Linked DNA regions of Homo sapiens: regions 2, 3, 4, 5, 6 and 7 are each linked to region 1. The links are contacts of gene promoters, found by promoter capture Hi-C in blood cells and fetal thymus (Javierre and others, 2016). All regions are on one chromosome and are shown on one strand. Each heading gives the region's core, a stretch centred on a gene start or on the middle of the fragment in contact. The rest is flanking DNA. Distances are from core to core; before and after follow the strand shown. Region 1 holds the start of PKP4-AS1 (PKP4 antisense RNA 1). Region 2 has its middle 30 kb from the start of UPP2. Region 3 overlaps ACVR1 (activin A receptor type 1). Region 4 has its middle 110 kb from the start of UPP2. Region 5 has its middle 95 kb from the start of UPP2. Region 6 overlaps CCDC148 (coiled-coil domain containing 148). Region 7 has its middle 51 kb from the start of UPP2.

The links. The method cuts DNA at HindIII sites, captures the fragments that hold promoters and counts their contacts. A CHiCAGO score of 5 or more calls a contact.
Region 2: a fragment that was not itself captured here is called in contact with the fragment with the promoter of PKP4-AS1 in region 1 in 3 of 17 cell types (non-activated CD4 T cells, M1 macrophages and megakaryocytes); the score reaches 6.3 in non-activated CD4 T cells.
Region 3: a fragment that was not itself captured here is called in contact with the fragment with the promoter of PKP4-AS1 in region 1 in 2 of 17 cell types (M2 macrophages and erythroblasts); the score reaches 7.1 in M2 macrophages.
Region 4: a contact is called between a fragment that was not itself captured here and the fragment with the promoter of PKP4-AS1 in region 1, in 1 of 17 cell types (monocytes). The highest score is 5.1, in monocytes.
Region 5: a contact is called between a fragment that was not itself captured here and the fragment with the promoter of PKP4-AS1 in region 1, in 1 of 17 cell types (total B cells). The highest score is 6.9, in total B cells.
Region 6: a contact is called between a fragment that was not itself captured here and the fragment with the promoter of PKP4-AS1 in region 1, in 3 of 17 cell types (endothelial precursors, M2 macrophages and non-activated CD4 T cells). The highest score is 8.7, in endothelial precursors.
Region 7: a contact is called between a fragment that was not itself captured here and the fragment with the promoter of PKP4-AS1 in region 1, in 14 of 17 cell types (naive CD4 T cells, M2 macrophages, M0 macrophages and 11 more). The highest score is 9.5, in naive CD4 T cells.

What each region holds. Positions count from the first base shown.
Region 1 is chr2:158,733,586-158,736,799 of GRCh38, reverse strand. It overlaps PKP4-AS1 (PKP4 antisense RNA 1), which reads left to right and starts at 1,798. Exons shown (of 4, transcript NR_135242.1): 1 at 1,798-2,072. The HindIII fragment of the contact is 4,247 bases long and covers 1-3,214 here.
Region 2 is chr2:158,070,240-158,073,450 of GRCh38, reverse strand. It overlaps a transcript of UPP2 not described here. Among named protein-coding and RNA genes, the nearest start is that of UPP2, 30 kb to the left of the region's middle. The HindIII fragment of the contact is 4,494 bases long and covers 1-3,211 here.
Region 3 is chr2:157,774,339-157,777,260 of GRCh38, reverse strand. The region is part of intron 5 of ACVR1 (activin A receptor type 1); the gene reads left to right. Among named protein-coding and RNA genes, the nearest start is that of ACVR1, 100 kb to the left of the region's middle. The HindIII fragment of the contact is 1,141 bases long and covers 894-2,034 here.
Region 4 is chr2:157,989,274-157,992,292 of GRCh38, reverse strand. No RefSeq gene overlaps it. Among named protein-coding and RNA genes, the nearest start is that of UPP2, 110 kb to the left of the region's middle. The HindIII fragment of the contact is 1,311 bases long and covers 929-2,239 here.
Region 5 is chr2:158,005,719-158,008,831 of GRCh38, reverse strand. It overlaps a transcript of UPP2 not described here. Among named protein-coding and RNA genes, the nearest start is that of UPP2, 95 kb to the left of the region's middle. The HindIII fragment of the contact is 3,223 bases long and covers 1-2,904 here.
Region 6 is chr2:158,189,192-158,192,357 of GRCh38, reverse strand. All of the region lies in intron 11 of CCDC148 (coiled-coil domain containing 148), which reads left to right. The region is part of intron 3 of CCDC148-AS1 (CCDC148 antisense RNA 1); the gene reads right to left. Among named protein-coding and RNA genes, the nearest start is that of CCDC148-AS1, 24 kb to the right of the region's middle. RefSeq lists an enhancer at 823-982. The HindIII fragment of the contact is 4,296 bases long and covers 1-3,166 here.
Region 7 is chr2:158,049,774-158,052,808 of GRCh38, reverse strand. It overlaps a transcript of UPP2 not described here. Among named protein-coding and RNA genes, the nearest start is that of UPP2, 51 kb to the left of the region's middle. The HindIII fragment of the contact is 2,422 bases long and covers 404-2,825 here.

The DNA.
Region 1 (3,214 bases), core at 549-3,048:
CAGTCAATGTTTCTGAAGCATCATGGACCAGGTGTGTGGTGGAGTCATGGGAGAAGGATAGAGTGGGCATTATTTAAGCAGATGCTGGCTCATATCGGCTTTGAAAACCTTAGGAAGGAGTGTAGACTTTATCTCAAAGGTAATAACTTTGTGATATCACCCAGATGTTGTGGGGGAGTGGTCTAGAGGGAAGCAAGGCTGGGGATAAAGAGGCTAGTTAGGAGGCTGTGACAATGGAGGCAAAATGTAATGGGGCCCTGGATGGAAGTTGCAAATGTGGATGGAGAGATGAATAAGGATTCAAAAAATATTTAAGAGGCACAATAGACATGCTTTGATAGTTGGTTAGAAATGCAGTGTAATGTGTCCAAGGAATCTAGGATGACCTCAGACACATTTGACTTGAGCAGTTGGGCAGCCAGATGGTAGAGCCATTTGGAAAGACAGTGACTCCAGAAGGAACAGGTTTAGCACTTGTGAACTGAATTGGCCATTAGGTTAAAAGGAGGCTTCAGAATTCACAGAAGGTCAAGTTGAAAGGCCCAAGAAAAACTGACTTATTAAAGTTACAGAGGTCAGGTCAGAGGAGGAAAAGACAGGAGGTTGAGAAGTTCAATCGAAAAGGCGTTCAGATGAGAAAAGGAGGCTACAAAACCATATGTACAATAAAATACACATGCACATGATAGAAACAAGGAAAAGATGCTAGAGAAATCCATATGAACACATTAGCAGGAATTATTGCCTCATAGTAAGATCACTGGTGATTTGTAATTCCTTCTCTTTGCTTAGCTGTATTTGCAAAACTAAAGGTTGCACAATAAATGTGTGTTCTTTTTGTAATAAAAACAAAAGGTGTTTTTGAAAAGTGGTTATGCAGGTGAGGGAAGAATACGGAAGAGCTTTTCTTTTTTTTTTTTTTTTCAGGCATAGTCTCGCTCTTTTGCCCAGGCTGGGGTGCAGTGGCACCATCTCGGCTCACTGCAACCTCTACCTCCTGGGTTCAAGTGATTCTCCTGCCTCAGCCTCCAGAGTAGCTGGGATTAGAGGCAGGCACCACCATGCAGGGTTAATTTTTGTATTTTTGGTAGAGATGGGGTTGCCATGTTGGTCAGGCTGGTCACTGGTCTTGAACTCCTGACCTCAGGTGGTCTGCCCACTCAGCCTCCCAAAGTGCTGGGACTACAGGCATGAGCCACCCCACCTGGTCTAATACTGAAGGGCTTTTAACTTAAAGTGAAAAACTTAATTGGAAAGGTTTATAAAAGTAAAGCTCGTGGACAACTAACCTGATGTACTGTCTCACAAACTTGGTTGCATATTGAAATCACCTGCACAGTTTCAAAAATACTGTTCCTGGATCCCACGTCCACAGCTTCTGATTTAATTGACAGGAGGTGTGGTCCGAGCCTGGAGATTTTTGTAATGCTCCCCAGGTGATTCCAATGTTGGCAAAGATGGAAAACCACTAATGCAGTTAATGAGAAGGAAGAGGGATAACTTTTTAGACTAGCATTCTGAGTTATTTAAAGGAGTGAGAATCTTGGGGGAGAAGGTTCTCAGTGAGGCCATAAAGCGGGGTCAAAGGTTGGCAGTGAGATGGCACCCCAGGGTCAGGCATGAGGTCCATCCCACAATATGCTCTTAAATGACAACCTAGTGAAGTGAGCTGAGCTCAACCTTAGAAGGACGCTCCAAGAAACTCTGCAAAAAATGGGGACATTTTGCGCATAAGGAAATCTGAGGTCCTGCCAGCTTTGCCGTGGTCAAGAGCACGTAGCAGCTGGTTCCATATTTAAAGGCAAGCGGCTCTCACATCCTAAGGTATTACCCAGCAAAAGGCAGCCTCAGGAGGCAGCCCACTGAAGACCTTCAAGTCCACGAAGACAATGTATGGATTGTTCACTAAAACTGAGGAATGATTTTCAAATAATCTGTCGCCAGAGGGCCAATCCAGGCTTCAGGCTCCAGTGTGTATGGAGGAGCTGCCACTGCAGAGACGCTGGCTTAGGGGGCTGGGGGATGCCTCCTTTGAATTCTGGGCCCACCACTGACAACACTTCTCTTCTTGGGTGAGTTATTTCATTTCACTGACCTCGCTCTCTTTATTTGTGAAAAAGAAGATAGTACTACCTGTTACACAGGTTTCTCAGGATTAAATGAGCTCAGGTTGAGCTCATTGTGAAAGCAGCTATTCGGTTTTTTAAAATGTGATTGCCATTGTTTGAAATAGCAAAAGAGGATATATCACTGTTAAAGTCTGTCTGGACGGCAGTCTTGCTGTATCATTTCCACCTCTTGCGTGACATTTTTTCCTTTCTTATTTAATTTTCTAAATTCTAAAGTACGGCGGCTAGAGCAGACAAACTGTTCTTTTCTTAGTAGATTAATGGCATTGAGTACATAGCCCTTAAAAACATAAAGTTTAAAAGCAAAAGCAATGGCCGGGCGTGGTGGCTCACGCCTGTAATCCCAGCACTTTGGGAGGCCAAGGCTGGCGGATCACTTGAGGTCAGGAGTTCGAGACCAGCCTGGCCAACATGGTGACCCTCCCCCCGCCCCGCCCCGCCCCACCCCACCCCATCTCTATTAAAAATACAAAAATTAGCTGGGCGTGGTGGCATGTGCCTGTAATTCCAGCTACTCAGGAGGCTGAGGCAGAAGAATTGCTTGAATCCAGCAGGCGGAGGTTACAGTGAGCCGAGATCACTCCACTGCACTCCAGCCTGGGTGATAAAGCGAGACTCTGTCTCAAGGAAAGGAAAAAAAAAAAGCAAAAGCAACAAACTCAAAATTTTGTTTTTTAAGTAAAATATCTTGATGTTAGTAATCACCAGAGTGAAGACAATGGTTACTGAAATTTCAACTCTAAGAGAAAAGGCAAAAGGCAATTATAGCAAAGTATGGGCAACTTCCATATATATTTCATTAAATCTGAGATGCCTTTTATTATAAGATATGTTCATTTTCTATATAGTTAAGGAAAAAAATAGTTGCAAATTAAACTATGACACAATGCTTTCTTTCCTGATACAATGTTTTCCATATTGAAAGAGCTCTTTCATATTTATTTAAACATCTCTTGTTACGTGTAGCACTCGACGTATCTAAAAAGGAAAACACAAGTGAAATGAATTGCTTAAGGTGTTCCACAAAACTTCACATTCTCACTCTTCTGAACCACTTTGCAGTCATCAATGCCACACATTTTTTC
Region 2 (3,211 bases), core at 489-2,988, 660 kb after region 1:
TGGAAGTTCTTTGATATTATCCCTTTGAATAAACTTTCTACTCCTATCTTTTTCTCTGCCTTCTCTTTAAGATCAATACTCTTAGATTTGCCCTTTTGAGGCTGTTTTCTAGATCTTGTAGGGATGCTTCATTTTTGTTTATTCTTTTTTCTTTTGTCTCTTTTGACTATACATTTTCAAACAGCCTGTCTTCAAGCTCACTAATTCTTTCTTCTGCTTGATTAATTATACTCTTAAGGAACTCTGATGCATTGTTTTAGCATGTCAGTTGCATTTTTCAGCTCCAGAGTTTCAGCTCAATTCTTTTTAATTAGTTCAATCTCTTTGTTAAATTTATCTGATGGAATTCTGAATTCCTTCTCTTTGTTACCTTGAATTTCTTTGAGCTTCCTCAAAACAGCTATTTTGAATTCTCTGTCTGAAAGATCACATATCTCTGTTTTTCCAGGATTGGTCCATGGTACCTTATTTAGTTTGGTGAAGTCAAGTTTTCCTGGATGGTCTTGATACTTGGGGGTGTTCATCAGTGCCTGGGCATTGAAAATTTAGGTACTCATTGTAGTCTACACAGTCTGGGCTTGTTTGTGCCCATCTTTCTTGGAAAGGCTTTCCAGGTATTTGAAGGGACTTGTGTCCCATGATCAATAATGCTGTGGTTCTTATAGACTCATTGAGTTACCACCTTGGTGTTCTTGGATAAAATCTAGAAGAATTCTCTGAATTGCCAGGCAGAATTCTTGTTCTCTTCCCTGATTTTCTCCCAAATAAATGGAGTCTGTCTGTCTGTCTGTCTGTCTGTCTGTCTGTCTCTTTCTCTCTGTGTGCTGAGCTGCCCAGAGCTGAGGTTGGAGTGATGCCAGGAGCCCTGTGGCCACCACCACTGGGACGGTGCTGGGTTGGACCTGAAGCCAGCACACCACTGGGTATTGCCTAAGGCCCACTGTAACCACTATTTGGCTACTGCCTGTGTTCACTCAAGGCCCTAGGGTTCTACAGTCTGCAGATGGGAAGATAGTCAGGTTTGTGTCTTTTCTGTTAGGGCAGCAAGTTTCCCCAGACCCTTGGCAGGTACAGAGATGCTGTCTAGAAGCCAGAGATTGGAGTAAAAAAACCTAGAAATCTACCTGATGTTTTATTCTGCTGTGGTTAAGCTGGCCCTCAAACCACAAAACAAAGTCTTTCCTGTTCTTCCCTCCCTTTTCCACTGGCAGAGGAGGCTCTCCCAGTGGCCACCACCACCACTGGCTTGCAGGGAGTTCTGCCATGCCACCACCAATATTCACGTAAAGCCGAATGGCTCTTCAGTCAGCTTGTGGGGAATGCTGCTAGGCCTGTGACTCATACTTCAGGGCAGTGGGCTCTCCTCTGGCCCAGGGCAGGTCCAGAAAAGCTGTCCAAGAACCAAGGCCTAGACTCAGGGTCCCCAAGAGCCCACCTGATATTCTACTCTACTGTAGCCAAATACGTACCTAAGGTGTAAGACAAAGTTCCTTTTACTTTTCCCTCTGCTTTTCTCAAGCAGAAGGAGTCTTTCATAGTAGTCGCTGCAGCTGGGAACGTGCTGGGTCTCACCTGTAACCAGCATATCTCACACTCTCACCCAAGACCCACTGCATACTACCTTAGTGTCACTTTTAGTTATTTGGGGCTGAAGGGCTCTTTAGTCAGTAGATGATGAATCCTGCCAGGACTTGGTTCTTCTCAAGGCAGTGGGTTCCCTTCTAGTCCAGGGTGTATATAGAAATGTTGTCTGGGGGACTCATAACTCTGCCCAGTGTCCTATCTTATTGTGGCTGAACTGGTAGTCAAGATACAAGCCAAAGTCCACTTTCCTCTTAGCTTTCTTCTCCTTAAATAGAAGGAAGTAGTCACTTTTTTTTTTTTTTTTTTTTTTTTTTTTGAGACAGAATCTCGCTTCTTTGCCCAGGCTGGAATGCAATACCATGATCTAGGTTCACTGCAACCTCCACCTCCCGGGTTCAAGCAATTCTCCTGCCTCAGCCTCTCCAGTAGCTGGGATTACAGGCATGTGCCACCATGCCCAGCTAATATTTGTATTTTTAGTAGAGACAGGGTTTCACCATGTTGGCCAGGCTGGTCTTGTACTCCTGACCTTAAGTGATCCGCCTCAGCCTCCCAAAGTGCTAGGATTACAGGCATGAGCCACCGTGCTGGAAGGAGTCACTTTTGTTGCTGCGAGTTGCACTGCCTGGGGTTGTGGGAGGGATGATGCTTGCACTCCCTTAGCCACCCCAGCTGATGTCTCCCTAGGTCACGTGCCGCCCTAGTCCACTGGCTCTAATCCTAGCCCAGCATTAGGACTTGCCTAGGAAATGCAGTATTTGTGTCCCTGACTGCCTTTTAATTTTACCTAGTACTCCAGAGCACTTTAGCCCTTGGTGATGAGGCTTGCAGAGAAACTCAAGTCCCAACCACTGGGATGGATGATCCCCCTCCGGCTAAGGCTGATCCAAATGATCTCTCTGTGGGCAGGCAATGGCTGAGCCCAGCTCAGCTTTGCTCTCTGCCATGGCAGAACAGCACTGAGTTCAATATCAAGTCCTACAGTCACTGTGCTCTCCCTCCCTAAAGTGCTCAGATTCCCTCTCCATGCCATGTAGCAGCTCTGGGGAATAGGGAAGAGGTGGCATCAGTGATTCAAGACTGTGTCCTACCCTCTTCAGTGCCTCTTTCAATGATATAAAGTTAAATCCAGGTACTGTGACTCCTCACCTGACTTTTGGTTCTTATGACAGTGCATTTTTGTTTGTAGTTAGTTGTTAAAATTTTGTGTTCCTTTGGGGGCAGTCAGTGGAGGCTTCTGTTTAGCCACCTTGCTCCGCCCCCCATAAACAGTGGCTTAATTAATATTTTTAGTGAAAAATGCCAGCATGGCAGAGAGGAAAGAACATTGGGTTAGGAGTCAGAATACCAGGGTTCTGATCCCAGCTCCATAATTAACTGGCTATGTGATCATAAGGAAACCATACAGCTTTTCTTGTTCTCAGTTATCTATTAAATGAGGTTGGATAATTAACACTTTACTTGAATCAAGAGACCTGTACATAGATAGAAACACGTCTCTGATTTCTGGGTAGGGACAGGTAGAGATGGCTTGTCTAGAATGGGTAGAGATGTCCTATCTGAATGACACCAACATAAATGGAAAAGCTGCTGAATGCTTGGGGGTAGCTCAGTTTGGGTTCATTCA
Region 3 (2,922 bases), core at 215-2,714, 960 kb after region 1:
ATACATTAAAAAATTATTCTTTTGCATATTTTTAAATGATAAAATCACATTAAAAAATGACTATCTCCTTCTATTTACCTTTTAAAATTGCTTACCAAGTGTTCATTTTAAAGACGCTTTGAACTTTAAGTGGGGAAAGGGTATCACTTGCTCTAAATAGAAGGTTATCATAAAGTGCAAAAGAAAAAATAATAACATTCTGCATGGATATTATGCTGAGTCTGATGCCTACTCTGAAAAATTTGAGATTTGTGGGTGTTAAGTGAGTGCAAGAGACATGCCAATACCAATTTGAGACTCCTTGTCACAATCCGATTAATTGAAAGACAATCAAAGTAATAACTTTCTAATGTGATTCAGTTTTACTTAATGCCATTGCCCATGTGTATTTGAAATCATTTTGCAGTAAGTCTTGTTCTGCTAGACAGCAAGCTTCAAAGTGTCTGATAGTTCTGCAGTTACACTTGCCCTGCAGCTCCCCTTATGCTGGAGAAGACTTCCCCTCACCAGTGACCATCTGGGTAGCACAGATGCTACACCTGGACAATTGCAGGACCCACCTGTGGCAGGTTGTCACAGACATTTGGTAGTGCCTGATATGGGCTGGGAAACATCCCATTCTACTGCCTGCCCCATCCATCACTGGGCCACTTTTTGGTATGTAAAAGGGGGAAGTAACCTTCTGTAGCTTCCATTTACCTACTGTTTAAACTGTGGTACAGTGGAACTGGGGAAAGAGAATGCAGTATAAGGACATTTCATTTCAAAAAGTAGAGAAATACAATTTTTTTTGTTAGATATATACTTAGAAGTCTATTTCAAGCTTTAAGGAAAATTAAATGAGTTTATTGAGTTAGTAGCAAGAAGATGTGAGGATGAATCCTGACAAAGCTTTAGCAAAGCAAGATTCTAAAATAGGTTAGTTAGAACTTCATTCCTCAGAGCTGCTAACATAACTAATTACCAAGGGCAATAATAGGAATATCTGGTATAAATTACTGTTTAAATGGCTTTTAGAATTTTGAGAGAGGAATGGAGCATATGCCAAAATAGTCCTTTAAACTCAACCATGTCATGTGACAGTGTATCATGATATAATAACACAGTAAAGAACACTATTTAAAACAAGTTGTCATTATTGGTCTACATACTTGCTTATTTAAGCAATATGCTCATTTGTATGTTTCAACAAAGCATGCCCTTACTAAACAGCACGTCTACATTGAAAAACAAGCCTTGGCCATGCATGGTGGCTCATGCCTGCAGTCCCAGCACTTTGGGAGCCCAAGGGGGAAGATCACTTGAGACCAGGGGTTAGAGACCAGCCTGGGCAATATAGTGAAACTCTGTCTTGAACTAAAGAAAAGAAAAGAACAAAAAGAAGGCTTGGCATCTGAGAGTTGGGATATACGTTTGTTAGTCTTGGGTTGATTTTTTATTTTTCTTTCCTTAGGTCTGTGAACAGGGTTTAGAAGCAGGATCATACATTATGGAAAAAATAACACATTAGTTTAATTTTCAGAATTATTCTTCTCGAAAAAGAATGAATGAATAAGGAGCAAAAAGAACCGCAAGAGAGAAAATGGTTAGGGAGATATGAAACTCTGCTTCATCTACACTCATTTTCTTGTTGATTATCCCTTTTGTGGTTTTTAAGGGTTCTAAATTTCTTCCGTTGGATGCTCAGCTTTTGGTAATTTTGCCGATCAACAGTACTTCACAGTGGTGCTCAGAAGAAGTGAAAGAAGATGAAATTCACACAAATCAATGTATTGCTTTAGTAGGCCAGCCAAAATGTTTGGGAAAGGATGAGCTTTGGGGAATATTAAGTCAATATTACTGCAACTCTACCTTTATCACCCATCGGCACAATATTGTTTATTACAGATAATCTATGCCTGATACCTGCTTCTTGGCTTATGCTGAGAGTAAGAAGGAAAACCTTATCAATGAACTAACTGGGAATCTTTTTGCCAACACCTTCATTTGTAGACATTGACTTGGGGCACTGGTTTTATGTTTTCAATGAAAGCTTTATTTGTTTTCTTTTCTGATTTGTGAGTGATTCACATTAAGAAATGATAAGTAGGTGTTGATATAGTTTTGCTCCTCACCTGCCTAAAAGGAAACCTCCATCCAGGCAGCCCGTTGCTGCCTGCGCTTACCAATTTAATGATCCACATGGTCATTGGAGTCTTTTCGTTACAAATCACATTAGAGTTGTTTGTTCCTTATTCCTAGTTTGTTTGTTCCTAATTAGAGTTCCTTAGTTGGTATGGCAACTAAAGTGAATCATTTGACAGATACTTAGTGAGAATAGCAAAATATGTAAATTATACCCAGTTCTTGAAGTTGAAAGGACCCCCCCCACCCTTTTCTGTTCCACCTGCTATTCTCTCTACTGCTTTCCTTGAGATCATATCTGCTTCTTGGGCTTTCTGATTTACACCTTCAACTTTGTCTGCTCAGCTTCTTTCATTATATATTTTATTTGGAAACTCTGTGTATAAGAAAGGACTACTTATCCTTCGGGAAAACCTATCATATATTAGGTGAAGTGCTAGCTTCTAGTATTCCGAAGAAATAAAACTTTTCCTGGCCAGGCGTGGTGGCTCATGCCTGTAATCCCAGTGCTTTGGGAGGCCAAGGCAGGCAGATCACCTGAGGTCAGGAGTTTGAGACCAGCCTGACCAACATGGAGAAACCCCGTCTCTACTAAAAATACAAAATTAGCCGGGCGTGGTGGCGCGTGCCTGTAACCCCAGCTACTTGGGAGGCTGAGGCAGGAGAATCACTTGAACCCGGGAGGTGGAGGTTGCAGTGAACCCAGATTGCGCCATTGAACTGCAGCCTGGGCAACAAGAGTGAAACTCCGTCTCAAAAAAAATAAAAAATACAAAACAATAAAACCAGTCCTTCTTC
Region 4 (3,019 bases), core at 335-2,834, 740 kb after region 1:
CGGGAAGCTCAGACCTCCCTACCTACTTGGTGAAAAGAAGGAAATTTAGAACATTTGAGCTCGCAGGCTGCCTACTTAAGACTACCCGAAGAATGAGCTCTGCTTACCCCTGTTCCTTCGTAGGTACATGAATGAGTCGTCAAAAATTCACTAATAGTTGATTAATGCAGTTGTGACAGTATGAAAAACAACAAAAGGAGTGCAGTGCTGAAGAAATTCTAGATCTTGCAGATTTAATGCATCCACTTATATCCATAACTCAATCCCTTTTCATATGACACTAGTTATTGTTGTTACTGTCTTCCATAACCATTCCTACCACGACTCCAGTCCAGGCCATACCCCCTTCTTCTTGTCACAAGAACATCAACACTCTGCAGTCTTTTCTTCTTTATCATGTCTTCATCCCTCCATACTTTGCTCACCAAGATGTGTTTTTCCATCTGTCATATTTGTCTAATCCTGTTGATTTAATGCACTATATTTCTACTAAGAAAACAGTACATACAAAATACTCCCAAGCATCTAACTACTTTTAAAAATATAGATCTTTCTAAATTACCCATATGTATTGCCTGACCTGGCATCTCTCTCTATTTTCATACAGTGCTCAGCACTCCTGATTAATTGTCTCTTTAATATTTTATCCAAAATTGCACTGGGAAACCAAGAAAACAGGACAAAGGAATGTCATTTGTACTTTTTGTAATCTTCATTATTTACCAAATGTATTTTTCTTATAACCACCTTTGTAGTACTTCAAGATATGCCTAACAGGCACTGTTAGCTCTTTTACAGGCCTGTGGATAATGGAAAGTATGGAGAATCCTGGCTTGGAAAGGCAATAAATAAGGTTATTTTGACACTACTCTCTATTGGAGGAATTGTGATTGTTTTTGATTTTGTTTCTGTTTTGAGAGAAGAAGCTTGCCTAATGGCAATCCATAAGACATTCTGGAGAACAGTTATAGATTCAAAATGTGAGTTTTAGTCTACTTGAATGTAGCACCTTGTTAACAAAAAGGCTTCACTTTTATTGCCTCACTGATAATTCACATAACCTGCTGACATAGTGCTATGGTCTGAATGTGTGTATACCCCCAAAATTTGTATACTGAAACTTAGTTCTCAAGGTGATGGTGTTAAGAGGTGGGGCCTTTGGGAGGTGATTAAATCATGAGGGCTCTGCCCTCAAGAATGATGTTAGGTACCCTCTTAAAAGGCCTTGAGTAAGTGAAGTTTGGCTCTCTTGTTCTTCCACCTCCCACCCCGTGATATTGCAGATTTCACAACAACAAGGCACCATCTTGGGAGCAGAGAGCAGCTCTCCAAACATTAATGCTAGCACCTTGATCTTGGGCTTCTCAGCTTCCATAATTGTAAGAAACCAATTTCTTTTCTTTATAAGTTACCCAGCCTAAGGCATTTTGTTATGGCAGCACAAACAGACTAAGACATATAGAGTTCATGGTGGCCACTTTTTAAAAAAATGTACAAAGAACTTGAGGCACTGAGAGGCAAATGACTGGCTCAAGAACATGCAAAGCATGATCAAGTAATTTTGAGGTATACATTTTTAATTCAAACTCCCTTGGTAATCTGATGGTGAAAAGAATTTTCAATTTTCAAATTTCCTAGACTACATGCAGGAGAGAACTCAGGAGCATGGCACCAACTTATTTTGTCTTATGTAGAAGGATATCTGACTTGAGGTTGAGAATTCCACATCAGAATCTATAGGCCTTTTCCCCTGCCCAGTAGAGTTTAGTTGCCTACCTTCAATCTCTGCCAACAGCAATCCTCTACCCCTCTGGTTTAAGCAGGCTGTTCTAAATAGTTGCCGGTGGTTACCGTGGTAACAGACGCTTAGGTTTCAGCTTCGAATGCCCCTTTTAATGAGGCAATTTCAAGAATATCTGTGATAAATTACCAGACCACAGACTTCACTGCAGGGAGTTTTGCTTTGGAAAATCTAATAAAAAGACAGCAGAAAGAATGAGCAGTAAATGCAACAGAGAAAATGGGGCCAGATTTGGAGGGGCAAATGGAAGAGATGCCAGATCTGACTACCAAAAGCCAAATCAGAATCAGTTCAAACCAGAGCTTTAAATTATAAACGGTCCCTGAAGGGCTTCCTGACATGCTGAGCCAAGATTCCTTGGGAGGAGGAATGGTAAAGTGAGAGGTGGTGAGGGCAAGAGTTGAGTATGTCCTGCAGAGGGCTGTGTATTTTAAAGCTTCCATTTTCTATTTTATCATTAATTGTAGTGGCTAAATCAGAAACGGTCTCCTTTTGTTTCTCCATTTCTCCATGTATGAGACCAAGAGACATTGCCACCTGGAGAGGACATAATGAACTAAAATGTGGACTTTCGCCTAAGTGAATTTCACAGCAACCTAGGTTATCCACATTTCCCAAAGACATACCTGACTTGATAATGGTCCAGGATTCTGTTATTAATCTCTTATCCATTGTACCCATTAAAAATTTCACAGAAGGGTAAACGTACTTAAACACATTGCTACACTATTGTGTGGAAAGAAACATCTCCTAATTACCCAAAGGAAGACATGTCATTCATCCTTGTTATGATTGAATATAAAAACTATGCCTCCACTATATAAAATAGCTTCAGTTTATACTTGGTTGAAGGCAAGAGGGTAGCCTAAAAGAGCCTTCACTTACACTGTAAGTGCCTTGCCAGGCTCCCTAGGTCCCTTCAGGAACATCTTACTCTCGCTGCTCACGGAAAGCACCAGGGAACAGATGCATTACAGTTTGTGACAGGAGAACAGCCTGTGGATTCCGCCTACTCCCTCCAGTCCATCTGGGAGGTGGGTGAGACAGGGAGCCCACAGAGAGGGGGGCTCTCCTGGGAATCCCTCAGGGTACCATGGCTATTGGTGCTTTATTTTCAGTAGATGGCACTGTGTCTATTGAGATAAGCAAAGGGAGATTCTAGATGGGAAATTTAATTGTTTCTAGAGAAAGCACAAGGCATGTGAGAATGCACGGTAT
Region 5 (3,113 bases), core at 44-2,543, 730 kb after region 1:
AAATTATTGAAAGGATATTTGAAATGGCATTTAATACCTGCAAAGACTGAAACAATCAGTAGTTTAAAATTTCGCCATAAAGATTGGTAAATAACACTGATTACAGGTCTTATTCAAACAGAAAATAATGAATATGTAATGAAAAGAGAATAATGATCCAAATTGCTTTTAATCTTGGAGTTATGCCTATTGATTGGCCTGGAAATAATAGTGCTAATCTTACAGTAGGAAAGTCAAGTGCTTTAGAAAGTCATTAGCTTTAGGGAAACGGGATACCCATTTCATTGTGCCAGTACAGTATTTTATTGAGTAAAGCCTCAAACAACTGTGTGTTTAAGAAAAATTCCAAGGTTAGCCTAAGTCAAATAACATTCCTCTCCACTCTGCTCTGTAACTGGTAAAAGCAATTTAGGTACTCTTTCTAATTCATCTACCTAAACACCTGCTATATTCCTGCAACACAAAATAATCAAATACAGTAAATAATTCAGCATTCCAAAAGGTAATTATTGATCTCACACTGGCTTATTTCTAATAAGCTGAAGAAGTAATAACCTTCTCAAAATAGTAAATTTACATTTTAGACTGGCATTCCTGAGACACTCTGGCAAAGTTTCATGAACGAATATATTTATAAGCAAATATACATTAAAAACACACAAAGTCTTTTTAAAAGTCATAATTTCTCATCTCTAGGAAAAGCCTCAAAGGATTCTGAATTTGAAATATCTTTACTTCCCATTAACTTTCCATGTATCCAATTACAAGTTAAATTTACATTCTTTTCAATCCATTTTTGAGACCTTAAATGTATTCTTAGATCCTGAGCTTGAAAATTGATTGCTTTTATTTTAATTTAAATGTTAACACAGAAGCATCTGGTTAATGAAAATAGAGATACATGAAAAGCCAGGCACGGTGACTCACTCCTGTAATCCCAGCACTTTGGGAGGCCTGTAATCCCAGCACTTTGGGAGTCCAAGGCAGGCGGATCACGAGGTCAGGAGTTCAAGACCAGCTGACCAACATGTTGAAACCCTGTCTCTAGCCAGATGTGGTGGTGCGTGCCTGTAATCCCAGCTACTCAGGAGGCTGAGGCAGGAGAATTGCTTGAACCTGGGAAGTGGAGGTTGCAGTGATCACTCCACTGCACTCCAGTCTGAGCGACAGAGCAAGACTCCGTCTTAAAAAAAAAAAAAAAAGAGAGAGAGAGAAATACGTGAAAAACCCACGCTCCTCTTAGCAAATGTGCATGGAACAAGGAACTGGCCGGTGTTAAAAGTTGCCAGGCAGGGCAGCAGAGAGCACTTCACAATGACATGGTTAGATGAGGCCCTCAAGACAAGCTGGTTGCCAGGGAACACTCAGGGCACCTGAGAAGTGGGCAAGATCAATTTGTTATGGGGAAGTCAGCTGAATGCAGAGCTGAAAAGAGAAAGTGCAAGCCAGAGGGAACAAGAAAAGACTGAAGTCAGAGTGGAAAGAGCTTGGGCTTGGAAGTCACGAAAACCTGACTTCTGACCCTTATCAAATGTGTCACCTCTGGGAAAGGAAACACCTTTGTCTCTCCGACTTGGTGTTTTTCACTTGTCAACTGAGTATAATGATAGCACCGCCTCGCAGAATTATTATAGGGTTATAAGATGATGCATATCAAGCACTTAGCACACTGCCTATGAGTACACAGAAAGGGCTGAGCAAAGGATATGAGTATTACTACTGAGTGCTGCTGCCAGAGAGGCTGGCAAAGGGAAGGTGAATGCCAGTCTCAGAGAAGGATACAAATGGGTACCTCACAGAGTCAAAGTCAGGGAGGCAAAGGAAACAAGGCAAAGGGAACTAGGATGGTGTGGAATCTCCTCACTAGGCTTTGCATTGAACCAAGGGCCTTCTGGTACACAAAATCTTGCACACTGAAATATGCCCCTTGGAATGTTCACCTTTCCTGACCCTGTCTTAAAGATACCTTGCTCTAAATCCAGTCATTTGTAACAGCTGCTCTGGAAAGCAAATCTGGTGTCATTTCAGATCTGACAAGTGCCTTTGAGTAAGAGCAGGAAGGAGAAGCTCATTCCATTGAAAGGCTTCCTCGAGTATGCCTAGGAAGACGCCCACTGGAGATGGTTTGTTAGCTTGTTTGCCAAAACAAGTGAGTCTTGGAAGTTGCTTTTATTTTTTTAATTCAAGTGAATGGTCCCTTTATTTTTTAAAATGTGAGGTAAGTATCTCTCCCTTGTTTCTGGAGAAGATGGTGAAGTTTCCATGCATCTGAGTGCAGACACTGCAGTCTGGAAGATGTTGAGTGTTCTGCTTCATATTGGGAATTATGGACTTTTTTTTTTTTTTTTTTTTTTTGAGACGGAGTCTCGCTCTTTCACCCAGGCTGGAGTGCAGCGGTACGATCTCGGCTCATTGCAAGAGCCGAGGCTCCGCCTCCCTTGTTCACGCCATTCTCCTGCCTCAGCCTCCAGAGTAGCTGGGACTACAGGCGCCCACCACCACGCCCGGCTAATTTTTTATATTCTTAGTAAAGACTAAATAACACGGGGTTTCACCGTGTTAGCCAGGATGGTCTTGATCTCCTGACCTCGTGATCTGCCCGCCTCGTCCTCCCAAAGTGCTGGGATTACAGGCGTGAGCCACCGTGCCCAGCCATTATGGACATTCTTAACCACATTGTGCTCTTGAAGAATTAAATAACTTTATTAGCCATAAAATGGTGTTTGTAGGCTGAACTCTCCTCTACTTACTGCCCTTTAGGACTAACAGCCCAGACTTGGGTAAAGGGGAATGCGCTTTGGGGTGTTTTGCTGATCACTGTAGCTGCGCAGTGTAATGAGACCATTCCCTAGGTGAGTGTGAGGAGGGGATGAACACGCCTCAGGATAGAGAAGGAGAGAAGCTTATTTGCTTCAAGGGGACTGATGGTTGGGCACAGGACTGAGGCTTGCGGATGCCTAGAAGTCCTGTGTGTGGAGTGTGAGCTGCTCCTGGCCATGGAGAGGCCTTCGGGGGCTGGGCCAGGACCCTGAAGTTTGTTTAGGGTCAGCTGTAAGCCGGAAGAGCCCCCACTGGTCCCTGCAGTGTCAAGCACTCAACTTGATTCCATTGGC
Region 6 (3,166 bases), core at 354-2,853, 540 kb after region 1:
AAATCGTGAGTTGTTGGAAGCCTGTTTTATTCTCTGGCCCACGACCCTCCTCTAGCAATTTCTCTGTTTCCTTTGAGAGAGATATCCAAAGAGAGACCCATATGGACATCTCTAGCTTAATGTAGGAAGGGAAAAGACAGGGTTTCTTGAGGTTTATTTCTGTCCATACTTGAATAAAGCTGGCGAGAAGATATATACATGTTTCCTTTAAAAGAGGGGGCTATCAGTGATCTACATATTATTTGTAAGTTCATCTGAATCTCTGTCCAGTTTATTGCTTTATCTTTTCCAGTAAAGTTGGTTCCCTGTTAATTTAATTAATTTTACTATCTTTGACTTTATTGTCTGAGTGTTGATGAAAGCAACACATCTCTCTCTCTTTGCCTTTCTTGAACATAACCTTTGGCATCTCACCTGAAAAAACTACAGGGTAGGTAACAGAGTTCCCCAAGTAGGCACTGGAGATGGGCTCTCCTCCTGAAATCCAAACACCAGGGTTCACTTGGCAGAACTCTAGGGTGAACTGCTTTGTAGAGTTGTCTGTCTCCAAAGAAAAAAAAGGAACAGTGATTCCGGAGCTCAATTCCAAAAGCTGAATTCTGAGACAAAACGGAAACTGCTAAGGTAGGTGTGACTTGGCAGAGTCACCAAAGAAGCTAGTTGAAACTCTATAGCCAGAGGAAATCAGCATTTGAGAAAGCCAAAGGAAAAAAGCACTAGAAAAAGTCACACCCAATACATAAATATATTTTATCATTTGTTTTTTTAAAGCATGTTTAAAATGCCTAGCCAAAACTTTAGCTAATGAAAATATTTTACTTGGGGGGATTAGAAGGGTTACTTAAAAAGTAGAAGAAAAAACCCCGAAGGCGTTTGTGAAAATAACTGTTCTGCTCCACTGACTTTCTTTTTTAACCTCAAATGTTAAAGAGGCTGTTTGTGAAGCCTCTTCGCTGATCATTTCCTAGGCTGAAAGAAAATCAAGGTTTACTTCTTTGCTGTGGGCGGCTGAATCACTACAAAAACCTTTGGTCCTTTTGATGTTTGCTTTCTACAGAAGTTCTGAGAGATCTGGGAAGGAAGAAAGAGAATGTAATGGGGATTTTTCAAACAGCATTAGAGAAGCCATGTTTTATTAATCTTATTTACTTAAATCATTTGTTTGAGGGAGAAGACTGTGGTTTCTTTTGTGGTCTCAGTGCCCTCTCGGTTCAGCAGTGCTGCTAAAGAAGGGAACCCAGTTCCATCATCATAATCATACAGATGTCTATCTCCAGAAAAACGAGGACCAATTAAAATCAGTTCTCACAATAAGTAGCCGAAGTTAAAAATAGATAGAACTAGACCGAAATATTATGACTTGATAACACGGTGGTATATTTTATTAGCATGTCTTTTTAAAGCTCAATACTAAAGCAATGCCTCTTTTAGTATTTGTGATTCTGAAAACACATTTATGAAAACCTTGGGCATCAGGAATTATGTGTCTTATGAGAATTTTTCAGCTGAAAAAAACCTCTCCAATAAAACTAATCACCCATGCTTATCATTTTCTTACTTTTAAAAGCATTATTTTGCTTTACAAACAAAATTAGCATAAGAATTTAAAGAAAGGTTCCAATGTTATGAGGTAAACCCTCAACAAAAGTTCCCTTCTTACACAACTGTTAAAATGATTATATGGCCTCATGAAGATTTTTTAAATGCAATACATATTAATTGTGGAGTTAAACTATATCTACCATAAACCATTTGTGAGTTCAAGAGTCACTGTGCAAATTACCCAATTAGTATCAAATGGCAGATGTCTTTTGTTAGTGAGTTCATATGATGGCAAGTGACAGGTGCCTCTAAGTATTCAAAATCCAGATGTAAGCTCTGCCTTTGTCTACTTGATAGGTGTTTCTAATTGCTCTGGGTTTTTGGTTTGTTTTGCAGAAATATGATTGTTATACATTTACATATATGGCACTTTGTATAAATGTGCTGAATAAATGAATGTATTAGAGGCAATTGGGCAAATAAATGCTGATCTGCCTGGGTGGCCTTTTAAATTTCAGTTCATGATAAATAATTTCTGAAAGCCAACATTATTTCTGCCTGTGCTGTCCCTCCAAAATCATGATCCTAGCAAGTCTGTATCATGGTCGTGGATGTCATGCCTCAGTTTGGCTTTTAGCATTCATGGCTCCTTATTCTCAAAAGGAACTGACACTAGATTTGTTCTCCAGTAATTCAATTTCTCTTCCAGCTTCTCAAATGATTAAATATCTTACAAAGACATACTCACTGACTAATTAGACAGGCTTAAAGGAATAATGTATATTTAATTTATTCTTACATTTTTATTTTGCCAACTCCTGTGTCCTGTTATTTACCTACAGCTTAGGATATTCAATAGAATGCTTTCCATCACTTTTTAATTTCACTCATCATTTATTCTATGTTTCTTTCATTTATTGGTGCATATCTTCTGTGTTTTAGGCACTCTGCTAGTTCTTGGGGATACACAGGAGATTAAGTCATAGCCACTAGACTCAGGAAGTATACAGTCTAGTAGACAAGACATGAAAACAGAAACTATAATACAAAGCAGGAAGTGTCTATGTGTCTATGCCATTCAGTTTGTTTACTTGACCATTCTTGCTTGCTTATGGAAAGGTAAATATTATTTCCCAAACTGGGTCTATTGAGAAAGGTTTCTGTTATCAGATAACTGAGCAATAAGCACACTAAGTCCTCCTTTTAGAGATTCATAATGCACTCCACCATATTATCATAAATATTCTGAAAGCTCCTGCCATAAATAAATTTATTTTACTTTGTTTATCTTAGTATTTCCCAAACTTACTTGAACACATTTTTATAGTATACGTGTTAACTTCCTGTGGGAAATTAACATTCCATGGACCATCAGTTTGGGAAAAGAACTGATTACCCTTTGGAACAGCTAGATACATGTCCTCTTGTTATAGAGGACAAAAAGACACAGATTTCCTTACACATAGAAGATGTGTCTGCTAGTCAGGAATCTTCAGAAGCAACTGACAAAACCTAACTCAAACTAGCTTAGGCAGAAAAGGGAATGAATTGATTTACAAGAATGGGAATCCAGGGCATGAGTCTTGCCTCAGTGACTCAAATGGTATCTTCAGATTCCTCTCAC
Region 7 (3,035 bases), core at 365-2,864, 680 kb after region 1:
TCCAATGTTTACTATCTGGGACTTTACAGAAAACATTTACCAGTTCCTACTCTAGATAATGATGATGAAGATGATGATGACGACAGTGAAGAAGACAAGCCACTTCTGCCATTTATTGGGCAAAAGGCAATAATATTAATTCTATTCTACAAATAAAGACATTGACGCCCAAAGATGTTAAGTAACCTTATCAAAGTGACAGAGCTAATATATGGCAACCAATGTCACTCCTAAGTTTGTTCTCCCAATTCAGTCATTCAATACCCATATAATGAATGGCTACTGTTGGTGTCCAGGGCATTAGCCACTAGGGATAGAATGGTAGGCCTTACTCCAAGGAATAATAACTGACTCCTTCCTAGGTAAGAGTAACTCTCGATAGTGTCCCTGTTTATTGAAAGCTTACCCCAAGTATACTTCTTTCCAGTTTACCCACATCTTGATATCGCCACCATCATACTTTCTACTACAGCTTCATTTGATAGAATAAGTCAGGTACATCTTTTGTTCCTTAGGAACATTCCTCACTGTTTATTGGACCTTAGACTCATTGTTGGGTTCCAATTCCTTACCTACTTTTTCCTTCAGGTGACATGTTCCCATTATTCCCTTACCTAGAGTTACCAGATAAAATACAGGACACCAGTTGAATTTGACTGTCAGATAAACAACAAATTTTTTTAGTCTAAGTATGTCCCACATAATATTTGGGACATATGAAGGGTGTTCTCTATTTTTATTTGCTAATTCTGGCAACCCCTACCTAAATATTTTTGTAGCTGGAAGAATTATCCACTGTGGGTAGCAGGGTATTTACTGGGAAGGCCTCATGGGTTAGGACAGACAGCATTGGATTTCCCAGCAGAGGATATGTGTGCCAGGCCAGCTGGGCAGCATCCCTCCACAGAATGGGAATGAGAGCCCCTACTCTCAAGGTCTGGTGAAGACTCAGTGAAATGTTGTATATGAATAGCATTGTGTTTGGCAAAGTGTAGTTGTTTTGTTTTGTTGTTGTTGTTGTTGTTGTTGAGGTGGAGTCTTGCCCTGTTGCCCGGGCTGGAGTGCAGTGGCATGAACTCGGCTCACTGCAACCTCCGCCTCCTGGGTTCAAGCGATTCTCCTGTCTCAGCCTCCTGAGTAGCTGGGATTACAGGTGCCCGCCACCACACCCAGCTAATTTTTGTACTTTTAGTAGAGATGGGGTTTTGCTATGTTGGCCAGGCTGGTCTTGAACTCCTGACCTCGTGATCTGGCCGCCTAAGCCTCTCGAAGTGCTGGGATTACAGGCGTGAGCCACCGCCCCTGACCATGTAGTTGTTATTTATCTTCACTCCAAGTAATATTTGTTCATTCATTTTAGTCATTTCCTCTGGTAGTTCAGATTCTAAAAAACAGATATTCCTCAATATACCCTCAGCACAGCACTGTCAGATTGTGTCCCTCTAGCCTCTTCTTTTTCCAGGATCTCACTGAAAGATTTAAATGACTATCAAAGTTAATTTAATTATGAAGTATGCAAAATGCTCCTCCCAATTTATAAATTCCATGGGATAAAAAAAGGAAGTTTGACAGACTGCGTTGTTATGAAATGAAAGATATTATACACACATACACACACACACACACACACACACACACACACACACACACATATTCCTAGAGTGACCCTCAATGATTTTTTTTTAATTTTTATGGGTGCATAGTAGATATATTTATTTATATAATGTTTATGTGTGTGCATATATATATATTTATGGGGTACATGTATATATATTTCTGGGGTACCTGAGATGTTTTGATACAGGCATGCTCTGTGAATTAGTCACATCATGGAGAATGGTGTATCCATGCCCTCAAGCAATCCTTTGAGTTACAAACAGTCCAATTATACTCTTTTAGTTATTTTTAAATGTCCAATTATTATTGACTATAGTCACTCTGTTATGCTATCAAACAGTAGGTCTTTTTCATCCTTCCTAACTACCTCAGTGCATTTCAATAGTTCATATTCAGTTACATTATCTGCTTTCGAGTTCCACCCTGTTTCAAATTCCATAATCACATTTGACAGCAGCAAATAAAAACTCATTTTTAAAAAATTCCTGGAATAATAGAATTTTTATTTTCTTTGTGCATTCAGTAAATGCCAGATCCATCTTACTCTTTTTTCTTTTTTTGAGACAGGGTCTTGCTATGTTATCCACACTGGCCTGGAACTTCCAGGCTCAAGGGATCTTCCCGCCTCAGCCTCCTAAGTAGCTTGGACTACAGGTGTATATCATCACACCTAGCTAGATCCTTCTTATTCTAAGGTCTCTTTTAGAAACTGAAATTTGATGGTTATAATTAGTGCAATTTTTCATCTCTTACCTTATTAGAGAATAAGGATAAGATAGACTAGTACATTTAAAAAAAAAAAACTAAATAATCCATGTAAATACATTGGAGCCAAACTGTTTACTTCTCAGTCTTCACTTAGAGTCTTTGCTTCTGTGCTTTTAGCAAATAGTTGCTAATGCCTCTCACACTTTCTTAAAAATGCAGAAGAGAATGATATGTTACCTGTCTCCAGGAGATGGTCAATGTGGGAATGTGCTCATGGAAAACCTCAGTTCATAAAGGTGTCTGTTTATTTCTCATGAAACTCTTTAGCCAAACACTCTGCTAAATTTCTGTATCAGGAATTAAGCATAAAACGCTCCACTTTCTGTTGTTGCCTATGACTCTTAATATTTTGAGAACTAACAAAAGGTAAATAAAATGTCAGGAATCAAGATTAACCATTAGAAATAAAAAATGAATCACCACAGTGAAGAAAAAAAGCTTAAATTCAAGGGGATTTTTATTTCAAATGGTAATGGGGCCTATTGGTTCAAGTGAAATCACATAAGAGCTATTTTGCTCAAGTCTTTTCCAAGTGAAAAATTGTCAACAGGATTAAAGAAATATATTTTGAATTCTAATGTATGATCATAAGAAACTAGTGTAAAACATTTACAAAATTCTTCTCCCTAGGTAATATTCCCCAGTTCACT